Linked DNA regions of Homo sapiens: regions 1, 2, 4 and 5 are each linked to region 3. The links are contacts of gene promoters, found by promoter capture Hi-C in blood cells and fetal thymus (Javierre and others, 2016). All regions are on one chromosome and are shown on one strand. Each heading gives the region's core, a stretch centred on a gene start or on the middle of the fragment in contact. The rest is flanking DNA. Distances are from core to core; before and after follow the strand shown.

Evidence for each region. Contacts are between HindIII fragments. The CHiCAGO score rates a contact against its expected background, and 5 or more counts as called.
Region 1: a contact is called between a fragment that was not itself captured here and the fragment with the promoter of LINC02482 in region 3, in 12 of 17 cell types (total CD8 T cells, naive CD4 T cells, naive CD8 T cells and 9 more). The highest score is 12.3, in total CD8 T cells.
Region 2: a contact is called between a fragment that was not itself captured here and the fragment with the promoter of LINC02482 in region 3, in 2 of 17 cell types (total B cells and naive CD4 T cells). The highest score is 8.7, in total B cells.
Region 4: a contact is called between a fragment that was not itself captured here and the fragment with the promoter of LINC02482 in region 3, in 13 of 17 cell types (neutrophils, naive CD4 T cells, naive CD8 T cells and 10 more). The highest score is 18.4, in neutrophils.
Region 5: a fragment that was not itself captured here is called in contact with the fragment with the promoter of LINC02482 in region 3 in 14 of 17 cell types (total CD8 T cells, activated CD4 T cells, non-activated CD4 T cells and 11 more); the score reaches 15.4 in total CD8 T cells.

Annotation. Positions count from the first base shown.
Region 1 is chr4:6,965,230-6,970,040 of GRCh38, reverse strand. It overlaps TBC1D14 (TBC1 domain family member 14), which reads right to left. Exons shown (of 14, transcript NM_020773.3): 3 at 2,617-2,737. Among named protein-coding and RNA genes, the nearest start is that of TBC1D14, 58 kb to the right of the region's middle. The HindIII fragment of the contact is 1,052 bases long and covers 2,269-3,320 here.
Region 2 is chr4:6,263,041-6,267,487 of GRCh38, reverse strand. No RefSeq gene overlaps it. Among named protein-coding and RNA genes, the nearest start is that of WFS1, 4.6 kb to the left of the region's middle. RefSeq lists enhancers at 1,856-3,055, 3,844-4,447. The HindIII fragment of the contact is 3,106 bases long and covers 316-3,421 here.
Region 3 is chr4:6,670,260-6,675,130 of GRCh38, reverse strand. LINC02482 (long intergenic non-protein coding RNA 2482) reads left to right here and starts at 1,250. Exons shown (of 2, transcript NR_134665.1): 1 at 1,250-1,447; 2 at 4,138-4,403. It overlaps MRFAP1L2 (Morf4 family associated protein 1 like 2), which reads right to left and starts at 1,056. Exons shown (of 1, transcript NM_138699.3): 1 at 1-1,056. The coding sequence starts at 918. The coding sequence ends at 559. RefSeq lists a silencer at 752-981 and an enhancer at 1,454-2,062. The HindIII fragment of the contact is 2,330 bases long and covers 1-1,652 here.
Region 4 is chr4:6,989,813-6,994,487 of GRCh38, reverse strand. It overlaps TBC1D14 (TBC1 domain family member 14), which reads right to left. Exons shown (of 14, transcript NM_020773.3): 4 at 186-304. Among named protein-coding and RNA genes, the nearest start is that of CFAP184, 51 kb to the left of the region's middle. The HindIII fragment of the contact is 3,241 bases long and covers 1,750-4,675 here.
Region 5 is chr4:6,945,532-6,950,345 of GRCh38, reverse strand. The region is part of intron 2 of TBC1D14 (TBC1 domain family member 14); the gene reads right to left. Among named protein-coding and RNA genes, the nearest start is that of TBC1D14, 38 kb to the right of the region's middle. The HindIII fragment of the contact is 6,413 bases long and covers 1-4,814 here.

The DNA.
Region 1 (4,811 bases), core at 1,545-4,044, 290 kb before region 3:
TATGACAGCAGCCAGCCCCAGCCAGCAGCGCAGAGGCCTCCCCACAGTGCTGAGTCCCTGACCCTGAGCCCCTCCCAGGCTTCACCAAGTCCCTTGGGTTGGGAGATGAGCGATGAGAGGGCCAGAGACAAGCAAGCAGGTCCCGGGCAGGATTGAATGACTCGCGCAGGTAAGTTACATTCTTTATTATTGACGACGGAAGCAGATGGTCCTCCTCTTGGCAATATTGTGTTACCGCATAATGAACTGGCCTAGTCATTTCAGTTCACAGAAAAAAAAAAATCCTCTAAGGTCAAGAACATAATCCATGCTCCCCTCAAAAAAAAAACAGGGTCGGGCCGGGCATGGTGGCTCATGCCTGTAATCCCAGCACTTTGGGAGGCCGAGGCAGGTGGATCACAAGGTCAGGAGATTGAGACCATCCTGGCTAACATGTTGAAACCCCGTCTCTACTAAAAATACAAAAAGTTAGCCAGGCGCGGTGGTGGGCACCTGTAGTCCCAGCTACTGGGGAGGCTGAGGCAGGAGAATGACATGAATCCGGGAGGCGGAGCGTGCAGCGAGCCAAGATCGCACCACTGCACTCCAGCCTGGGCGACAGAGTGAGACTCCGTCTCAAAAAAAAGAAAAAAAAACAGGGTCTTAAAAAGACAAACAAGTTCAAACATTATGTAAGTGATATTAAGTGCCATGGGAAGATCTATTTCTTTTTAATGTAATTGTTGCTTTTTTAAAGTGATTTCTTTAAAAACTTTATAGCAGCTTGGTTATTTAATTTCCTAAGAAATTTATAGCTAAGCTTTGCATACAAACTCATCATACTTTAATTGTATGCTATTTTAATAAGCCTACACAATAAGTGATTCAAATTCAAAATGTAACAATCAACAAAAATGAATTCCAACACTGATTTACTTAGTGAGTCCCCTGGGTCCAGATGATTACAGCAGAGAATGGCAGACAACACTCAAACCAAATTTAACCTGCCGACGCGTGAAGAATGTGGCATGTGGAAACCCACTTTGTTGCCCAGAAGCCTCAACACTGCGCTCCCGCCTCACCCCCAACAAACCACTCCCTACACCTAACAGGTCACCCAGCAAGTCAATCCCATCCATTTAGCACTTAAAGGGGCATCCTCTGTAACCCCACGACGCAGCACTGGGCCAGACCCCACTTTCTCTTGCCTGGGCTGGTCCAAGAGCCATATTCTTGCCAGGGTGATGCCATCACTCCTTACCTACGTAAAACACTCAGAGGCTCTGCAAAGCCTTGGGGTTGGAGGCAGGCTACCGGGTGCAGCGCACAGGCCCCATGGCCAGCCTCCTCCCGGCAGTCAGCCTCCTCTCGGCGGTCAGCCTCCTCCCGGCGGTCAGCCTCCTGGGCTCAGCTGCACATTGTCCTTAGCTCATGCTGTCCCCACTACCTGCCTGGCCCTGCCTGCAAAAGGGGTCCTGGCATCCCACTGTCTGGGACCGGTTTCCAGCTGTGCTACTTACTAGCAATGTGACCCTGCACATCAAGTCACACAGCCTCTGTGTCTCAGTGCTTCTTTGGTAAACTGAGTTTAATAATACTATCTTCTTCACAAGGTTGTTGCGAGTTTTAAAGGAACTAGAAACACGAGTGCTGAGTCCGTTAGAACTAGCACACAGTAATCACTCAGTACATGATCCCCATAGCAATTAATTTCCTGTCACACCTTTAACCTCAGTTGTCTGTGCCACCCCACTCCTCCTGCGCCTGCCCTGGAATCATTTCCATGGGGACACTGTTGGGCACGGGTACTGTGTCCCTTCCAACTCCGGTGCCAAGCATGAGGCCTGGCGCTTAGTGGAGCCTCAAGAGTGTCTACTGAGCAAATGTCAATGAATATAAAACTGAAGCTGGAGGAGCGAGGGTGCTGGGGGCAATGTCGCGACACTTGGGGCAGACAGCAGACTCTTAGGATGCCGAGCCGGCTGAGACCCACAGCCTAAGAGAAGCTGCAGGCAGCGACGGTCACAGCTACCTGGGCCGTGGACTTGCTGTGTCCGTGCACAAGCAAGCCTCCAGCAGTGGCATCTCTCCCACCGTAAGGAGCAAGGCAGCCCAGTGGTGAGGACATGCAGGCCTGGCATGAACCCCATCCCCACCCCAAAAGTAGGCAGCCTCAGGGTGAGCAAGGGAGAGGCATCCCAGCAGAGCCGGGGAATGTCGGCCCTCGCCTTCCTGTCCCAGAGTAGCACAGGAAGGATGTGAGCTCCAAGAAACCCACGGGAGAAAGCTTTACTATCAAACAATACAAATTTGATGATAAACACATTTGCAACTATTACTAAAACTGATTAAATACAGTTATAAACATCTAGAGCCCAGCTCTGTCTAAATACCATTATAAACATCTAAAGCCGACCTCTGTCAAATGGACTTTCCTATGTGCATGTTACAAGCTGTAAGAAATGAAGGTTAAATTCATCCACATTGTGAATACAGACTTAAATCTGAGGAACGTGGTATGCAGATAATACAAAGCGATTTCCAGTTTCAGACTCAATATGGTCATTTTTGCAAGGTTCATGAATATATGCTAAACACATCCAACAGCCTATTTCTGTGATTTTGTATCTTGTGTACCTTCTGTATTCTCTTTGAATCCTTCTGGGCATTCTCTCGGAGTGGCGCTTTCCCAAATAACTTCCATCCCAAGTCATTGTGTTTGTCAAGCCTTGCACTTTGTTTTCTAGCAAGCAAGTTCCTATAGGAAGAAAATAACAAGGTTAGGGCATTTCTGGGTAATTCAAGAAACACCAGAACAGCAGAACCACTCTAATAAAAACAAGTCAGCTTTCCTCTGAGAACCACGTACTTTAATTCTTCAGACTTGATTTTCATACAGACACAGAATTACGCGGCAGGAGAAAGACCTTAAGCCAGAAATAAACTTTTTGTTGGCCAGGTGCAGTGGCTCACGCCTGTAATCCCAGCACTTTGGGAGGCCGAGGTGGGCAGATCACGAGGTCAGGAGATCGAGACCATCCTGGTTAACATGGTGAAACCCCGTCTCTACTAAAAATACAAAAAATTAGCCCAGCATGGTGGCAGGCACCTGTAGTCCCAGCTACTCGGGAGGCTGAGGCAGGAGAATGACATGAACCTGGGAGGCGGAGCTTGCAGTGAGCTGAGATCGTGCCACTGCACTCCAGCCTGGGTGACAGAGCAAGACTCCGTCTCAAAATCAAACACACAAACAAAAAACCTTTTTGTTATTCAACTAATTCTATAATTTAGAGTAAGAAAATGTGTTATGTCATAACAAAGGGTATCAGAAAAAGTAAGCTTTGAAGTCAGACTAAACTGAATTGAAACTCTGGCTCAACCATTCATTAGCCACATGACACTGGACCAGTATATTAACCTCTGAGCCTCAGTTTCCTACATTTAACAAGGGCACACTGCCCCATGTTCTACAAGGTTGTTATACAAATTAAAATTTCAAGTACACAATTAGTGTTAAAGAGTAACAGCTGCTTTAGTACGTAACCCCTAGCTTAAATTATGTACAAGGTAAATCTGTATTACCTATTTATAATGAGTATTCACATATCATAAAAAGAAAGTTACTCATGAGATGATCACAAGGTCTTCTCTCCAAAGAACATGTAAACAAAAGTTCCAAATAACACAAATAAATCCCAACTAGTAGTATTAACACAAAATAAAATTTTGGAATGCACTGTATCAATGCATTCATTAAAAACAAATGGCTTCCAGGACTTACTAGAAAGTACAAGATGAGCCTGCAGCATCTTGCTGGACTAGAAAGAAAGTTCTCAAAGAAATACTGGGACGTGTCTAAAAGAAACAGTAGCCAGCCTGAATAGGCTCCCACTGACTCAATCTGGAACAATTTACTCATCCAAATAATGAGAACAATGGATTATAACTCACTGAATAAAAGAGAAATCCACTAGCCCATATAGGTACAAATAAACAAACATAGAAATTAATGGAGGAGGAGGAAAGCTCTTGGGAAGTCACCTAGTAAGGAGAGACCAATGGAGCTAGGAAATGATCAACAGATGCTTACACCAGTGGGGAAAGCTCAATGAGGAATGGATTTTTACACAGTTTGAAAGTGTCTCCTACAAATTCCTTATTAATTACATGAAGCAAAATAGTTAATCTTATGCCGGAGAAACCTGAGGGACACACCTCAGCCAAGTGATCAAAGCTAACATCACCAGCGAGGAGTGGTGGCTCACACCTATAATCTCAGCACTTTAGGAGGCCAAGAGTTTGAGACTCACCTGAGCAAGGTAGTGAGACTCTGTCTCTACACATAATCTTTTTAAATTAGCCAGGTACGGTGGCATGTATCAGCAGCCCTAGCTACTGGGGAGGCTAAGGCGATATCATTGGAACCCAGGAGTTCAAGGTTACAGTGAGCTATGATTACACCACCAGTCTGAGTGACAGAGCAAGACACTTGTCTCTATTTTTTAAAAAGCCAGGACAGATGGCACAGGACATCTGATCTGATGCATGGGGAACAACACACCAAGTCAATGGCGCTGATGCCCAAGAATGCATGACCTGAATCCAATCATGAAGAGAAGCAGACACACCCAGACTGAGACAATTTATACAATAATGGACCTATAAGCTCTCAAAATGTCAATGTCATGAAAACAAAGAAAGGCTGAGGAACTGTTTCAGATTAAAAGGACATGAAAGAGGGCCAGGTGCAGTGGCTCATGCCTGTAATCCCAGCTACTCGGGAGGCTGAGGCAGGAGAATCGCTTGAACCCAGGAGGCGGAGGTTGTAGTGA
Region 2 (4,447 bases), core at 619-3,118, 410 kb after region 3:
GTGGTTGGGAGGGGTGCTTCATTACCATTTACTTTTAATACATTAGCAGGGAAAGATTGGTTTAATTATGACTCTCAGCTGGGGAAGGAAAGCCTTATTGGTGGTGGGGAGGGGGCTTCATTACCATTTACTTTTAATACATTATCAGGGAAAGATTGGTTGAATTATGACTCTCAGGAATTGGAAAGTAGCAACTCACGGGAAAGAAGCAGAGTAGAACTCCTGAATTACTAGGTAGAAGTTGGGGGAGGGGTGGAGGGAGAGTAAGGAAGCAAAATTAAGGGGGAAAGTAAATAATAGCAAGAACAATAAGCTTAATAATAGTAAACATAAGATGAGATAAAATAAATAAAGCCATGGCTACCCGCCTTCGTAACACGGTGAATGGGCTGAATTTCCCATCCAAAGTCTGTAAGATTGGGGCAAAAACTAAAGTCCAGTTAAGCGCTATTTACAAGAAACACACCAAAAATATTGAGAAGTAGAAGATCACAGCAGACATTTGAAAAATGGCAAATTACTATTGATAAGGAAGAACGCATGATGGAAAGCATTCACGGGAAGAGTGGTATTATGTAAGGGTGCCAGGCACAATCCACAAAGATTTCATTGTCATGAATCTGAATGAGCCAGAAAATCTAGTAGCCACACACTTAAAGCAGTAACTGCTAGAAATACTAGAACTTATTAAAACACAACTCTGGTGGGAGAAAGAGCCAGCTGTTCAATGCTATCTTTTCTAGGACACCTGTCCTCATTCCCCCAAGAGCTGAGCTCTGCATGTTGCTGCTGAGTATTGAATGAATGAATGGATGGATGGATGGATGAATCACCTATGCAAGGACTTCATATAAGCTCTTTCTTGCCCATAGGACAGTGTCCAAACTCTTTAACCTGACATCCAAATATACCCCCCACAATTCAGTCCTTTGATGTCTGCCCATGATTTTCAGACTCTGCATTCAAGTTCTTGGCCCACTTCCTTCCCTACACCTATTTAAAACCTACTTCCATTTACTCAACAAACATTTAGTGACTTTTGGCCAGGCGTGGTGGCTCACACCTGTAATCCTAGCCCTTTGGGAGGCCGAGGTGGGTGGATCACTTGAGGTCAGCAGTTCGAGACCAGCCTGGCCAACATGGAGAAACCCCATCTCTACTAAAAATACAAAAAAATTAGCCGGGCGTCATGGCACATGCCTGTAATCCCAGCTACACAGGAGGCTGAGGCAGGAGAATCGCTTGATCCCAGGAACTGGAGGTTGCAGTGAGCAGAGATCATGCCACTGCACTCCAGCCTGGGCGACAGAGTAAAACTCTGTCTCAAAAATAATAAGAATAATAATAAAATAAATAAAAATTAAAAAATATAAACATTTAGTGACATCCTGCCTGTTCCAGGCATTGGACTACATGCCAAGTATTCAAAGAAAATGAGGACAGAGGCTTGGTGAGTTGTCATTTGAAAGACAGCAGAGTGTGGCGGTTTACAGGCTATTGGTGTACAAGGCCCCCAAAGAGATCACTTCCTGGAGCCTGTGAATGGTACCTTATTTAGAAAAGGGTTTTTGCAGATGTGATTAAGGATTTTGAGAAGGGGCCATTAGCCTGGCTTATCTCCTTGCAGGAGAGAGGCAGACAGAGATTTGACCACACACGGAGAAGTTGATGTGGACATAGAGCAGAGAGAGATTCCAAGACGCTGGCATTGAAGATAGGAATTATGTGGCCACAAGTCAAGGAATGCAGGCAGTCCCTGGAATCTGGAAGAGCAGGGAACAGATTCTCCTTGATTTTTGCCCAGTGACACTGATTTCAGACTTCCGGCCTTCATAACTGTGGCAGAATCCATTTCTGTGGTTTAAGCTACTGAGTGTGGCAATGAGTTTTTAGCCCACTGGGTTAATGAGATAAGAACAACATGGGCCAGGCATGGTGGCTCACGCCTGTGATCCCAGCACTTTGGGAGGCCTGGAGGTGGGGGGTGGATCACCTGAGGTCGGGAGTTTGAGACCAGCCTGACCAACATGGTGAAACCCCGTCTCTACTAAAAATACAAAATTAGCCGGGCTTGATGGCGCATGCCCGTAATCCCAGCTACTCGGGAAGCTGAGGTTGCGGTGAGCCAAGATCACACCATTGCACTCTAGCCTGGGCAACAAGAGCGAAACTCCATCACACACAAAAAACAACAACAAAAAAACAACATGTGCGGCTGGTTGGGCATGGTAGCGCACACCTGTCATCCCAGCACTTTGGGAGGCCAAGCCAGGGGGATTGCTTGGGCCCAGAAGTTCAAGACCAGCCTAGGCAACATGGCAAAAACCCATCTCCACAAAAAAATTTAAAAATCAGCCAGACGTGGTGGCATGTGCCCATAGTCCCAGCTACTCAGGAAGCTGAAATGGGAGGATTGCTTGAACTGGGGAGTTTGAGGCTGCAGTGAGCCAAGATTGCACCACTGCACTCCAGCCTGGGCATCAGAGTGAGACCCTGTCTCAAAAGAAGAGAAGAGAAGAGAAGAGAAAAGAAAAGAAAAAGTAAAAGAGATAAGGAAAGAAAAAGTAAAAGAGATAAGAATAGAAAAGAACAGAACATGTTTGGGCATGTCGGCCACACATTGGACTTCTAGCACAGCGAAACCCTAGGACTAGCCTTGTCAGCATCCCTGGGAGCCAGGCCCAGGAATCTGCATTTTAACAGGTTCCTGGGGGGTTTGTGAGACATAGGAACATTTGAGACCCATGAGTATAAAGCAGTGTGGTTCATAGTGTGATGGGTCCACCAGACCAGCAACATCAGCATCCAGCATTCCTCAGTCACCTGGACGCCTGTTACGAATGCAGAATCCCGCGCCAACCATGGACCTCCTCAGTCAGAATTTGCATTTTAATAAGATGCCCTTGGGATTTGCATGCACATTAAGGTTGGAGCCAGTGGTGGCATATGCCTGTAGTCCCAGGTACTCGGGAGGCTTGGGCAGGAGGATTGCTTGAGCCCAGGAGTTCAAGACCACCCTGGATGACATAGTGAGACCCTGTTTCTAAATAAATAAATAAAGCAAGCTAGAGAAGCCATGCTGCAAGCTGGAGGTGCTTAGCTCAGGCTATGCACATAGCGCCACCTGGAGAGCTTGTCCTGCCCAGGCCAGCTGGACCAGAAGTCTGCATTCTATGGGGAGTCCTGGATAGGGGTGCAGCAGAGGAACCGCATGGGTGCCTTTGCAATTTAGCAAGGTCTGGAGCTCACTCAGGCCATGTGCCCCATCCACTGCCTCTTTCCTGAGGCCATCCCACCAGGCCTTGACCACATCTAAGGTAGGAAGCTCTCTTTGCTGCTATACCCCGACAGATCTTCCTAACACAATGTGACACACGGGGCAGCCTCCCTCACTGTCCGAGGGTCTGAGGGTATGGAAGCTTCCCAGGATCACACACCCTGCAGCTGCTGGGCCGTAGAGCCTCTGGGCTCCCACCCCCCTCCTTCGTCCTCTCCCACTTCCCTGCTCATATCCCACCCTGGGCCCACCACTCCTCCCTCCTTCCCAGTGTTCCCTTTATAAACCTGAGTTCCCTGCCCACTCTACAGTCTCCTTGGAATCACAGCCCAAGTGGCTGGAGTTGTGGCTGGTGGGGGTGTCGTGGGGGGCTCGGTGCTGGTCACACGGCTCTGTGTCACCAGGGCTGGTGCCACATCAGAGGCCTACGCCTGCCAGCACCTCCACACACACCCCCGTGCACACACCCACCTGCCACACACACACACTGCATTGTCGCCGGGTAGTTCTGAGCCCTCCCATGGGTCTGAGTGGTGATGTGCTCATCTCTGAAGGCAGAGAGCGAACGCCACTTCACAGCCCACAGACGAGTCACCAAGTGCACTGGGAAGTTTCATTTGGGGAATTAAAAAAAAAAAAAAGCCAGGATGCAAAAGCAACTTTGAGGCAGAAGAAGGAAAATGCCCGTGTGGGGAGAGACGCTGTTCCCAGGCCTGCCTGTGTCCCAGTCATGCCCCTACATCACTGAGCAGTGCCAGCTGAGATCCCCCACCTCCCCCAGCCCTCACCTTCGAAATGGGCCCAGCCTGCCCTGGATGCAGGGAGACCATGACAGCAGCCAGCATGGGGCCTGGGCACAGGTCTCAGGTCCCAGGGCTGTGTCACCAGGACTGGACACAGGACACGGCAGCAGCAGGGGCCTCATTTGCTAAGTACATCAATGTGCCCACACCGTGCAGCTGTCATTTCATGCTGAGTCTCTCTTACAAATGTCAGTCACTGGCAGGAAGGGGCAATCGTTCAACACCTGCTACCCGCTCCCTCACAGGTCTCACTGGGTGCCCTGGTGTGAGGTGGAAGGGTCTAAGGCACACAGCCCCGTACCTGCCCTGGAGGGGCTTGTTAGGTCCGGAAGCTGGAAACCCCAGCCACTGTTATTCTGGGGAGGGG
Region 3 (4,871 bases), core at 1-2,500:
TACTGGAAATTGAGTGGCTAATGTGGAGAAAACGCAGGCAGAAAAACAGGGGAGACAAAACGAAAGGCTCTCTTGGTTTGAGCCTGTCCAAGCAGCCACGACTCCTTATCAGGTGAACACAGTTCGTCAGTTGGCCACCTAAAGTACAAGTGGGAGAAATTCATCATCACAACATAAATTTTGAGCTTGATATTCTCATATCCGGGAGTCAAACAAACCCAACCACCTGTGCACAATGCTTCCACCTGCAGGAAGGTCATCGCAAACGCTCCAATCTCGTAACAACATTCACACGTTTCCAGCATGTACCTCCGCTTCACACCTCTCTCCCCCCACGTAGTGACCCACCAGGTCTACGTCCTGAAAATACTTCCAGTGGTCATGACTCTTTACAACAACATATCAAATTATTTTCTCTAATTACCTATGAAAAAAGAATGAAACCAACTCCGCGGAGAGCGTGGCACGGCTCTGCGCTCCCCTCCCTGCCTACCCAGCGCCTTCCACGCGGGACACTCCCCGCCGCGCTCCGCTCCAGACCCGCGCGGCCTCGCCGGCTCAGCAGCACTCGCAGCCGGCGATCCGCTGGTGCAGCTCCACGATCCGCCTGCCCATCCGCGCCGCCTCCGCAGCCTTCCTCTCTGCTTCGGCGCACAGCCGAGCCACCCGCTCCTCAGCCTCCGCACGCGGGCGGGGTGCTGGGGCCCGGGCGCCCCGCTCCTCTGCCTCCACCTCACTCTTGATGGCGTCGAGCAGGCTCTGGATCTCCAGCAGCTTCCTGCGGGCCCGCCAGTGCGCCCGGGCGCGCTCGCGCTCCAGGGAGGCCAGGTTCTCGCGGCCGGCGCGGGGCGCGGGGCTCAGCGGGCTGCCCGGCTCCTCGCGGGGCTCCCGCGCCTCGTCCGCGTCCACGGGCCGCATCACGCCGCCGCCTCTTCCAGCCCGCGGGGCACGCCGGGGCTGCTCACCAGCAGCGAGCGCGGAAGCCTCGCTGTCACCAACGACCAGACTAGCAACAGGTTGCCCCAACTTTCCGCAGCGAGGACGGTATCCAAAATGGGCTACTAGCCGTCGGCCAGGACGCTGCCACTGCGGCCCTTTTACGACACCTGCGGTCCTTTACCGCCACGCAGCAAGCGAGAACCGCATTCGGGGCTCCCGCCTCAGCGGTCCTGCGCGCGCACGCGCACTTGCACGCACGCGTACCCCCCCGCACGCATGCGCACCCCATGTCCCCGCCCGCTGTAGCGCCACAGCTCTTTGGGCGTTGATTCTAGGGTCAGGGCCCTCACTCACACTGCTGGAAGGTTAAAGTCGACTTCACGCTAGTTTAAGGAAATATCTGACGCTGATAACCATGTCCCAAGCACTGCTCTAAGTTCCCAATGTGTCCGGAATTGGTGGGTTCTTGGTCTCACTGACTTCAAGAATGAAGCCACGGACCCTCGCGGTGAGTGTTACAGCTCTTAAAGTGGCGCGTCTGGAGTTTGTTCCTTCTGATGTTCGGATGTGTTCGGAGTTTTTTCCTTCTGGTGGGTTCGTGGTCTCGCCGGCTCAGGAGTGAAACTGCAGACCTGTTACGGCTCATAAAGGCAGTGTGGACCCAAAGAGTGAGCAGCAGCAGGATTTATTGCAAAGAGAGAAAGAACAAAGCTTCCACAATAGAAGGGGACCTGAGCCGGTTGCCACTGCTGGCTCCGGCAGCCTGCTTTTATTGTCTTATCTGGCCCCACCCACATCCTGCTGATTGGTAGAGCCGAGTGGTCTGTTTTGACAGGGTGCTGATTGGTGCGTTTACAATCCCTGAGCTAGACACAAAGGTTCTCCAAGGCCCCAGCAGAGTCGATTGGTATATTCACAAACCCTGAGCTAGACACACGGTGCTGATTGGTGTATTTACAATCCCTGAGCTAGACATAAAGGTTCTCCACATCCCCACCAGACTCAGGAGCCCAGCTGGCTTCACCAAGTGGATCCCACACCAGGGCTGCAGGTGGAGCTGCCTGCGAGAACGGCACCGTGCGCCCACACTCCTCAGCCCTTGGGTGGTGATGGGACTGGGCGCCGTGGAGCAGGGGGTGGTGCTCGTCGAGGAGGCTCGGGCAGCACAGGAGCCCATGGAGGGGGTGGGAGGCTCAGGCATGGCGGGCTGCAGGTCCCGAGCCCTGCCCCTCGGAAAGGCAGCTAAGGCCCGGTGAGAAATCGAGCACAGCGCCGGTGGGCTGGCACTGCTGAGGGACCCAGTACACCCTCCGCAGCCGCTGGCCCGGGTGCTAAGCCCCTCATTGCCGGGGGCTGGCAGGGCCAGCCGGCTGCTCCGAGTGCGGGGCCCACCAAGCCCACGCCCACCCTGAACTCCAGCTGGCCCGCAAGCGCCGTGTGCAGCCCCGGTGCCCGCTCGCGCCTCTCCCTCCACACCTCCCTGCAAGCTGAGAGAGCCGGCTCTGGCCTTGGCCAGCCCAGAAAGGGGCCTCCACAGTGCAGCAGTGGGCTGAAGGGCTCCTCAAGTGCTGCCAAAGTGGGAGCCCAGGCAGAGGAGGCACCGAGAGTGAGCGAGGGCTGTGAGGACTGCCAGCACACTGTCACCTCTCACCAACATTCTAAATCATAAACACCCAGGCCGGGCGTGTGGCTCACGCCTATAATCCCAGCACTTTGGGAGGCTGAGGTGAGAGGATCGCTTGAGCTCAGGAGTTCCATACCAGCCTGGGCAACAAGGGAAAAAACCCTACCAAAAAAAACACAAGAAATTAGCTGGGCGTGGTGGCGCGTGCCGATAGTCCCAGCTACTTGAGAGGCTGAGCCGGGAAGATTGCTTGAGCCCAGCAGGTCGAGACCGAGGTGAGCTCTGAACGCCTGATTGCGCCACTGCACCCCAGCCCAGTGACAGGGCGAGACCCTGTCTCAAAATAAATAAATAAAAATAATAAACAACCGAATTCAGTGGTCCCGTTAGAATATTCCAGGCTCCGAGAAGCCAGGTGCTCACAGCGTCGGGATTTGCCCCCAGCCAGGGCCTCCGCTCCCTCTTGCCTCGGGCAGATGCTCCTGGAACACAGAGCTGCGGCCTCGGTGCTGATGCTGAGTGCTGTGACCCAGCCTCCCCCTACTTTTTTCCTAAGGGTATAAGCTTCACTCTGCCTGGGGCTTTGGCTGTAAGTTGGAGTCTGGCTTTACCCACTGTGGGCACCCAAGGCCAAGGTGGGTCTGATTCACCACTGTTTCCTCAGCCCTGCCAGGCTCTGAATATGCCTTTAGGAATCATTCTGGAAGATTTCTTTCTTCACTGGACTATATAAGTGCCTCTGCGAGAAAACAGGCCCTAGGGGCAGGTACTTAGTCAGTTTAGTCATCTGTTTCCTCAGCTTGAAATGGGCTTGGCATACAGCAGGAGCCCAGTAAATGTTGCTTTAATGCTCATTTCCCAAGAGATCTTTATTAAGCACCCACTGCATGTCATTGTGTCTAGGCTTATTCACTGTGTACCTCTAGCAGAAAGTTAAGGGGACCCTCCATGCTTGATGGCCAGAGGTCACTCTCAGCTCCTACAGGTCACTCTCCGGTCCTTAAACGTGGCCCTCTCCATCTTCAAAGCCAGTAAGAGCATGTCGGATCCTTCTTATCCTTCCAGCCTCTCTGTCATCCCCTTCTGCTCCCAGCTGGAGAAAACTCTGCTTTTAAGGGGCTTGCCATGGTCCAAATATGTGAGTCCCCCCAAAATTCATATGTTGCAAAGCAATCCCCAATGTGATGATATTAGGAGGTGGGGTCTTTGGGAGGTGATGTGGTCATGAAGGCTCAGCTTTCATGAATGAGATTAGCACCCTCATAAAACAACTCCACAGGGCCGCCTTACCCCTTCTGCTGTGGGAGGTTATAGCAAAAAGATGGGCTTCTATGAACCAGAAGTGGGCCCTCACCAGGCACCAAACCTGCTGGCACCGTGATCTTGTACTGCTCAGCCTTCAGAACTCAGAAAATACATTTCTGTTGTTTAGAAGACACCCAGTTTCTGGTATTTTGTTAGAGCAGCGTGAACGGACTAAAATAGTGCTTATGTGGTTGTGTAACAGCATCGATTCCATGTTAAAGAACAATTTTGCTTGCTCAATTATAATTATTGCTTTGCTTAAGTTTTAGACTATGCTAAAAACAGCCTCAGGACCTTCAGCACTGATCAACAATCCTGGGCATGGGCTGACCGACAGTTTTCACCCAGAGAGTGAAGATCATGGAGGAGCCATCTTAAATTCTGCCCAGCGCAGGCTCCCAGGAATCCTAATGTCACGATCTCACTGCAGCCAATGTGACAAACACAGCAGTAATTAAGTCTAGAGAGCTAAACACACCTCAAAAAGAATTGTCTCTTGGTATGAGTGGAATGGAATAAAATACATGGAAACCCACAAAAGTTTCGAGGTGAACATATTAGCAAAAATGCTCTAGCTTATCCAAGCGACAGTTCAAAGTGTCAAAGGACTTCTAGACTCCCAATCTTTCCACCGGCAGAAAGCAGGCTCAGTAGCCCAAACTGGCGCATTTTAAAATGCCCTTTTCAGAAGTGTGATGGAAAAAGAAGGATGTGTCAGTGCAGGCCAGTGTGTGGGGACCAATGGCAAACTGCAGCTCCTGAACTAAGAAAGACTTTCATATCTTTAAAAAAGAAAAGGAGAAATAGGAATATGTGATAGAGACTGTATGTGGCCCACAAAGCCTAACATATTTACTGTTTAGATCTTTACAGAAAATGTTTGCCAACTCCTGTGCTGCTGAGCCACTTCCAGGTTGCAGAACCAAAGCCTTACATTCCCTAGCTTTAAAGTAGAGGACCTGGCAATGTTTACTCCACCGAGTTTCAAAATAGCTATGTGACT
Region 4 (4,675 bases), core at 2,121-4,620, 320 kb before region 3:
GACAGTTTTCCAAATTGGTCATTTAATATAATTACAGAACACATGTTAATATAGAGAATAAGAAGTGATTCTGGCTTACTCTTCTCCCCTTTTCTGACCCTAGTTTTTCTCTAATGAAAAGCTGCTTAGCAAGTTGTACTTATTTCCTAAAGCAAACACTCTAAAGAGAGTCTTCTTAAACTCACGCTGGTCTGTCCTCGAGGATGAGTGCGGTGGTGGAAAGTGGTTCAAAGTCAAGATTCTTCCTCACATTCTGCTTTGGAGAGGGTGGCTTGCTAGGTCTTCCAGCCTTGTCTTCATATTCCTAGGACAAAGAAACCAGGGATGACTCCAGGTCCTTTCAGATAGGATGAAGTCCTTCGGAAAGTAAGAAAGTTGTTTTGTCATGAAACTCTTTTAAGCCAATTTCGAGGACAATTCGCCAAAAACCTTTCCTGCTATTCAGAATGAAAAGCCGCTGACTAAAGGGGTCTTTCTGGAGATGGAGTCTCGCTCTGTCGCCCAGGCTGGAGTGCAATGACATGATCTTGGCTCACTGCAACCTCCACCTCCTCGGTTCAAGCGATTCTCCTGCCTAAGCCTCTCAAGTAGCTGGAAATAGAGGCACTCACCACCACGGCTGGCTAATTTTTTTATTTTTAGTAGAGATGGGGTTTCACCATGTTGGCCAGGCTGGTCTTGAACTCCTGACCTCAGGTGATCCACCCGCTTCAGCCTCCCAAAGTGCTGACATTACAGGCGTGAGCCACTGTGCCCAGCCTAAAGGGGTCTTAGAGTTCCAAAGCTGAGACCATTGCTTTATGATATGACTGCACGCTTCCCTCGTTGGTGGGGAAATAACAAAGGATCTCATTATCAAAGCAGCCCCTTTGAGGAGGGCCCTCAAACGCTGCCTCAGGTCTACTGTCTCCTGGGTAACAGGCATGTTTTCTCTCTTCTGGACACTGTAAATTTTAACTGATTATTATCACGGCCACTGGGAAGCTGCCACTGCAAATTGTTATGTAAATAGTTTTGCCATGCCCTGGAAATCTAAGAGCAGCCTCCACATCACTGGGTCACCGATTCACCCGTGCACTGCAACCACAAGAGCTCATTCACACCCGGTGACCCACATTCCAAACGCCCAGCTGGAAGAACTCAGGAGAGCCAAACAGGTTGGTGCTTCTGAAATAATGTGTAGGTACTTCGCTCTGTGCAAAATCAAAAAACACAATCATTTAAGATGATTATAGATAATTAAGGAAATATTACAGACAAGGCTCTCAGGAATGCCCCTGAAGGGAAGATAATCTCATTGAGAAGATAGGACAAAGAAGGTAGTGTTAACCTAAGATTTCATGTTTGTCATGAGGTGGTGAGAAATTGCTAAATGAATTTCAGGGAAACTAGCTGTCAAGAGGCGTGTTACTGGTGAAATTATGCGGCAAGCAATTATTCTCTTAGCCAGAAAGGCCTCTAAAAAGTATAAAGAAATAGATTATTTCCTCAAAATACACAGGCTATGAGAAGGACGTGCACCAAGAAGCAGTTGGGTGGGGCAGTTTCTGTACACCTGGATGTATATGGTCACATGTCTTAACACTGTTTACTGTGGCTTAACATGGTTTCATTACAATTCTAAAATTACTTCCACTTACCAAAAACTGAAAACACGGACTCATTCCTTGCTGGATTCAAGCATCTGAACATCTACACTGTATGGGGTACACAGCCGTGACCTAAGACGGCACTAGCCCTCATGAAGCTTCAAGTCTAGCACCTGAATGTCAAAGTCTCCAATTTCATAGGAAATCAAACAAAAGCTGTGTGTTGAGAAAGATTCTGAGGCATGCTGCATTTTAACAAGAATTAGTAACACATACCCCATGAGGTGCTACTTATCTGCTGAGCCTGGTCTGGTGAACTGTATGCCAAGGCCAGAATGCTGGGCCCAAAATCAGCCATGGCAGGATGTGGATGCCCATTTCCATCGGCTTTTGTGTGCTCTGTGCATGTGGACTCACTTTGTCTTCACAGCAATCTGCTTGGCAAGTGTTACCCATTTTAAAGACAGGGTAACTGAGGCTCAAAGTGAAGTGACTTGCCTGAAGCATACAGCCAGCAAGGCTGGGCCTGCCGCCCTGAGCCGGCCCAATATCATCTGTGAATACACTCAAACCCACAGGTGTGCAGTTTTAGAGGGGAAAGCCCGAGTCCTACACGGCTTAGGTGTGGCCTCTGCAGCCAGATAGCTCTGGGAGCAAATTCAGATCCACCAACCACCAGCTGTGACCTCGGGCAAGGTACTCACTTCAAATCCCTAAGCCTTCTTTCCACATCTGCAAAATGGGAAACCCCGCCTGCCTCACCCTGAGTGGGCTGCTGGAAGGAATGAGGTGATGTCACAGCCTCTGGTGCACAGGGAGTGCTGGAGAAGGGCAGCCCTTGTTGGTCTGCGCCACTAGCTTTCTCTCCCCTCAGACCTGAAACCACGGGAAAGGCAGAAAACCATGCTCTAGTGCCAAACAACAATCTAGGAGCCCTGCCAAGTTGCCAACAGCACAGATACAAAAAGTAGGAGTAAAAGGAAGTAAAAGCCTTGAGTCATGACCAGAAACATCAGATCGCTTCAGTCAGAGCTTCTTACTATTACCAACAGCAACAAACAGTGGCGGCGGCTGACGCTAACAAGCCCAGCACCTCTGAGTGCTTTACGCGTGCACACTGGGTTAACTCCATCTCCTCCACACCAGCCCCCCGAAGGGGCTGCTCCACCCTAGACCATGCTGGGTTAACTCCATTTCCTCCACACCAGCCCCCCGAAGGGGCTGCCCCATCCCAGACCACGCCAACAAGACAGCTGCACAAGGACACGCTGTACCTCACCAGCGCAAAGCTGTGGCTGTGGTCAGATGGCCCAACGAAGGTTCAAGAAAAAAAAGCAGGGATGCAGGCTACCTGAGGCAGGCATGGTTTCCTGCCTCTTCCAGTGGTTTCAGGTCTGAGGGGGAGAAAAAGCAAGTGCCACAGACCAACAAGGGCTGCTGTTTCTCCAGCACTCCCTGTGCACCAAACACACACGGGGACCCAGAGGTGTCCGTGACTTACCCGGCGGGCAAGTGGGGAAGCTGGGTCACAGGCCACGCGCTGGGGTTCCGCAGCCACACTCCTCATCACAGAATTCATGCAAGCCTCTGGCAGACATGCATCAGAAGTAATCCATCATTCAGATTCAGTCTCAGTAGTTTTCACAACCGTGACCGAAACCTCAAATACTGAACTAAGTGCACAGATCAGCAGAGACGCAGGGTCAAATGCTTGTTTTAATCACAGACCAAGGCATGATTAAAATAATAAAGTAACACAGGTGGCCTAGCCTGCTCATACTTGAAATCCCAGGCAAAGCCCTTTCCAAAACCTTAGGCACCCTTTCAGAAGAGAAATGGTGTTGGAAATGGTGACAGGTCCTGCTCTAGACCCGGTTCTCCCAGGGCAACCTGGAGGTGACAACAGTAAGCTCACTGTCCAGGCCAGACAAACCAACTTTAGAAAGAAGAAAGAGGACTGTTCACTCCCAGGATCCCGGAGGGAAGAAACAGCACTGGAGAAAGAACACTCAGTTGTGGATTATCAGCGCTAAGGTCGGGCTAGCAAGGGATAAGGCTCTGGAAGTAAAACCAGAGTTCTAGGTCCTGGCTTGGGTGAGTCGTCTTGTCTCTCAGTCTGTTCTCAGCTATAAAACAGTAGCAACTGTACAGACCACTGTGGCGGTCAAGAGATAAGATATGTAAAATGGCTGGGCACTCACTCCCTCAAGTGCCAAGCCCTTTCTGTGTGCCAGGCAAGTACTGGTGCGGTCCACTTCAGTCCAACTCATCATTCCCAAGTTCCATCTCTGCATGGGACCAAATTTTGAAGTCTCTTGGTTTAAACCAAGCATCGATGCCCGTCTTGCTGTGCTCGTCAAAATCCCTGCAGACTAACAGGTAAAATAAACTGCCCACTTAAGTGACAGCTGCCACCCTGGACAACCCTAAAGGGAATTTATTTATTTATTTTTGAGGAGTCTCGTTCTGTCACCCAGGCTGAAGTGCAGTGGTGCAACCTTGGCTCACTGCAACCTCTGCCTCCCGGGTTCAAGCGATTCTCCTGCCTCAGCCTCCCAAGTAGCTGGGATTACAAGCGCGTGCCACCAGGCCCAGCTAATTTTTGTATTTTTAGTAGAGACAGGGTTTTGCCATGTTGGCCAGGCTGGTCTGGAACTCCTGATCTCAAGTGATCCACCCACCTCAGCCTCCAAAGTGCTGGGATTACAGGCGTGAGCCACTGCACCCAGCCCCCAGAAGGAATTTAGAACAAGGTTCTTCAAAGTTCTAGCAGCAGATCAGTTTGATTGGTCACAACAGCATTTTTAAAAAAAACAAAACAATAAAACACAGTACATAAATACAATTTGCTTCAGCTTTACACTTAGTTATGTCAGTACAATGAGTCTCAATTTAAAGTGTCTAACTGGGGATAATTTCAAAAAAGTTTGCAGGCTGTCAGTTTAGAAGCACAGTTGTTCGAAGTCCCTGCTCTGGGCAGCTTATAAGGAATCACGCTGGGAAAGACGAGACCATACCAACATGGCAGCAGCACCTCACTAGCAGCCAACTTGTGGGGTGTGGTCTGATGACCCAGCTAAGGTTGA
Region 5 (4,814 bases), core at 1,803-4,302, 270 kb before region 3:
ACAGAGAGGATCCAAATGAACTATGGATAAGCTATTAGAATTAGTAACCGAAGTTAGCAAGGCCTATACACAAAAACTCACTGCATTAGCCATAAAAAATAATGAGTTCACGTCCTTTGCAGGGACACGGATGAAGCTGGAAGCCATCATTCTCAGCAAACTAACACGGGAACAGAAAACCAAACACCGCATGTTCTCACTCATAAGGGGGAGTTGAACAATGAGTACGCATGGACACAGGGAGCGAACATCACACAACAGGGCCTGTTGGAGGTGGGGAGCACGGGGAGAGGGAGCATTAGGACAAATGCCTAATGCATGTGGGGCTTGAAACCCAGATAACAGGTTGATGGGTGCAACAAACAACCACAACACATGTATACCTATGTAACAAACCTGCATGTTCTGCACATGTATCCCAGAACTTAAAGTAAAATAAAAAATAAAAAAATTCACTGCATTTACAACAAACACTACCCAACGAGTCAACTCTACATTTCTTGACATTTGTAAAACCATCCCAAACAGTATCCAGGAATAAATTTAATGAAAGAAACATAAGACCTTTACATTAAAAAAAAAAACAAAAACAAAACTACGAAATGTGGAGAAATGAAAGAAAACCTAAATAGAGGTTCAAGGATTCAATTTTTTTTTTTTTTTGAGACGGAGTCTTGCTCTGTCGCCCAGGTCGGAGTGCAGTGGCACGATCTCAGCTCACTGCAAACTCTGCCTCGCGGGTTCAAGCGATTCTCCTCCCTCAGTCTCCCAAGTAGCTGGGATTACAGGCACCTGCTACTACACCCGGCTAATTTCTGTATTTTTAATAGAGATGGAGTTTTGCCATGTTGGTCAGGCTGGTCTCCAACTCTTGACCTCAGGTGATACACCTGCCTCGGCTTCCCAAAGTGCTGGGATTATAGGCGTGAGCCACTGTGCCCGGCCACGAATTAGAAGTCTTCATGTAATAAACACTGATCTATAAATTCAATGCAATCCCAAACCAAACCCTTGCAAATTTATTTGTACAATCTGCCAAACTGATTCTAAAATCTATATAGAAATGAAAAAGACCAAGACTAGCCAAGACAACCTTCCAGAACAAAATAGAAGGGCTCCCTCCCAAGTGCTGGGATTACAGGCGTGAGCCGCTGCGCCCAGCCTTTTTTTTTGAGACAGATTCTCACTCTGTTGCCCTGGCTGGAGTGCAGTGCCAAGATCTCAGCTCACTGCAACCACCACCTCCCAGGTTCAAGTGATTTTCCTGCCTCAGCCTCCCAAATAGCTTGGATTACAGGTGTGCGCCACCACGCCTGGCTAATTTTTTGTATTTTTACTAGAGACAGGGTTTCACCATGTTGGCCAGGTGATCCACCCGCCTCGGCCTCCCAAAGTGCAGGGATTACAGATGTAAGCCACCACGCCCGGCCAGGAGATGGCCAACATGGTGAAACCCCATCTCTACTAAAAATACAAAAATTAGCCAGGCGTGGTGGCTCACGCCTGTAATCCCAGCTACTTGGGACGCTGAGGCAGAAGAATCGCTTGAATCTGGGAGGCGGAGGTTGCAGTGAGCTGAGATCTCACTACTGCACTCCAGCCTGGGTGACAGACTCTGTCTCAAAAAAAAAAAAAAAACCAAGTACCCCTACCTTGTCACCGGAATGACAAAAAGAAAAATAAACTGACAATATCACCTTTCGGAAGGATCAAGAGCAGCCGGCATCACCACACACCGCGAGTGGGACCCACGGGAGACCCACCTGTCCCACCCCCCAGGCACGCACACGCCAGTGACATCCGTGAGAACACCATGGTGGGCATTATTTGTAACCATTGGACCCTGAACAAATCAAACCTCCACACATGGGAGAACAAAGAGTGGGATACCCATACAGCCGAAAACTAGACAACAATAAATGGATGCTACTGCTATGCAAAACCTCCCAGGGTCAGTTTGCCAGTGTTGAGCAAAGAAAGCCAGACATGAGAGGGCATAATGGATGAGTCCATTTACCTAAAGAAGGCAGAGCTCATGTGTGGTGACAGAGTCAGAACAGTGGTTACCCATGGGGAGCGAAATGCTGACAGGGAAGGAACCCAAAGGAGACTTCTGGGGGTTCTAGTCATAGTCTCTGTACTGACTGAGGTGGCAGACACACGAGTGTGTTCACTTCATGTACTTAAGTTCTGCAGGCTTTGCTCTCCTTTACATAAAATTTCAATACATGCTAACTCAGCTCAAACCACTCTCCCGTGCAGCCTTCCTGGGCTCATGTGCCCCCTCCCCACGCAGTCCCTCCTCTGTGCTCCCAAAGCACGTCCACATTTATCTCTGACACAGAGCTGGGAGTATTGCATTTTTGTTATTTGCACCTCACCTCCCCCTGCATTTGTAGGGCAGGCGGGCTTCCTACTTGGTCTTTGTATCCCCAAGGTCTGACATAAAACCTGCCAGATAGAACTGCATTAAAAGGTATTCATTAACTAACCCTGAAATGACTCTGCCACGAACGTCTCCACTGATGAAGTCACTGAGTCCAAAGCAAGATCTAGTGTTCTCCCTGAAGTCATACTCTCCTTGAAATCTCCTTCAAACACTCTCTAATATTTAAATACAGGAGGGGAAAAGTAAACAGGGATCCACTCTCTAACATCAGCTTAGATTTTTTTTTTTTTTTTTTGAGACGGAATCTCACTCTGCTGCCCAGGCGGGAGTGCCGTGGCGCAATCTCAGCTCACTACAACCTCCGCCTCCCGGGTTCAAGGGATTCTCCTGCCTCAGCCTCCTGAGTAGGTGGGATTACAGGCACCCGCCACCAGGGGCAGCTAATTTTTTTTTTTTTTTGAGACAGGGTCTTGCTCTGTTGCCCAGGCTGGAGTGCAGTGGCACGATCTCGGCTCACTGCAAGCTCCACCTCCCGGGTTCACGCCACTCTCCTGCCTTAGCCTCCCAAGTAGCTGGGACTACAGGCACCCGCCACCACAGCCGGCTAATTTTTTTGTATTTTTAGTGGAGACGGGGTTTCACCGTGGTAGTCAGGATGGTCTCGATCTCCTGACCTCGTGATCTGCCTGCCTCGGCCTCCCAAAGTGCTGGGATTACAGGCTTGAGCCACCGCGCCTGCCCTAATTTTTTTATTTTTAGTAGCGACAGGGGTCTCACCACGTTGGCCAGGCTGGTCTTGAACTCCTGAACTCAAGTGATCCGCCCGCCTCGGCCTCCCAAAGTGCTGGGATTACAGGCGTGAGCCACTGCGCCGGCCTAACTTAGATTTTTACAAGGAGAGAGAGAGATGGCAGAGCAAAAATGCCCATGTAACTTAGTACAAAACAGTACTAAGAAAAATACTAATTTATTCTTAATCTCCACCTAATAGTAAGGAAAAGAGGAGAGGAGGACTTAACAATAAGTTTGTAAGTAGCACAAATTATGAGGGGTCTAGGGATTGCATTTCAGGGAAGGAATGACATTACTATGTTCCTTCCATATTAGAAATCTTAAGGAGTAAGATCTGACTTAAGGTGGGAGGGGATATACGTGGGATTTAGACTCAGGCAGGTCAGGAGCTCAAATCCCAGCTTCGTAACAAGCTGCCTGATGTTAGGCAAGAAATGAACCTCTCTAGCCTCAGTTTTACCATCTGTAGAATGGAGATATCATCAATCAGTTACCATCAGAGTTTGTGTCTGTTAACTCTGCTTATTAATAAATAACACTAAGGGGCCGGATGTGGTGGTTCACGCCTGTAATCCCAGCACTTTGGAAGGCCGAGGCAGGTGGATCACAAGGTTAGGAGTTCGAGACCAGCATGACCAACATGATGATACCCCGTCTCTACCAAAAATAATACAAAAATTAGCTGGGCCTGGTGGCACGCACCTGTAATCCCAGCTACTCAGGAGAATCGCTTGAACCCGGGAAGCAGAGGTTACAGTGAGCCAAGATTGCACCATTGCACTCCAGCCTGGGTGACAGAGCAAGACTCTGTCTCAAAAATAATAATAATACAAGTAAAATAAATAAATAACACTAAGAGCAGTCTGTTAATTATATAGGCCCAAGCATCTCCTCTCATTTAATCCTAACCTTATTCATCCATGTCATTTTTTTCATTCAACAAATACATATTGAGAACCAACTATGTTCTAGGTGCTATGCCATGTACTGGGAATATAGTTCCTGATGACCGGAAATGTAGGTACCCATCCTCACGGGGCTTGTCTTGAAGAAGAGAAAATTCAGAGACAGAACCTTGCCTCAGATCGTGCGATAAAGTGCCTATATTTGAGCTGAAGTCTGAATTGAAAGTCCATTCTTTCTACTGGTGGCTCTGAACCCTCTGCGTGCTAGAGTCACCCGGGGAGTTTTCAAGCATCCTGAGGCGCAGGTTTCACCCCAAACCAATGAAAATCAATCTCTGAGGGGAGAATGCATATATTAATTTTTCTTTGTTAAGTTTGCCAGGTAATCCTACTGTGCAGCTAGGACTGAGAACTTCGCTCCTTAATAAGTCTTTCCCCTCCCATGCTATCTCATTTCTTTAATGCTTTCTTTCATCTTTTTTTTTTTTTTTTTTTTTTTTTTTTTTTTTTGAGACGCAGTTTTGCTCTAGTTGCCCAGGCTGGAGCGCAATGGCGCGATCTCGGCTCACCGCAACCTCCGCCTCCCGGGTTCAAGCGATTCTCCTGCCTCAGCCTCCTGAGTAGCTGGGATTACAGGCGCGTTGCCACCACGCTCGGCTAATTTTGCATTTTTAGTAGAGACGGGGTTTCTCCATGTTGGTCAGGCTGGTCTCGAACTCCAAACCTCA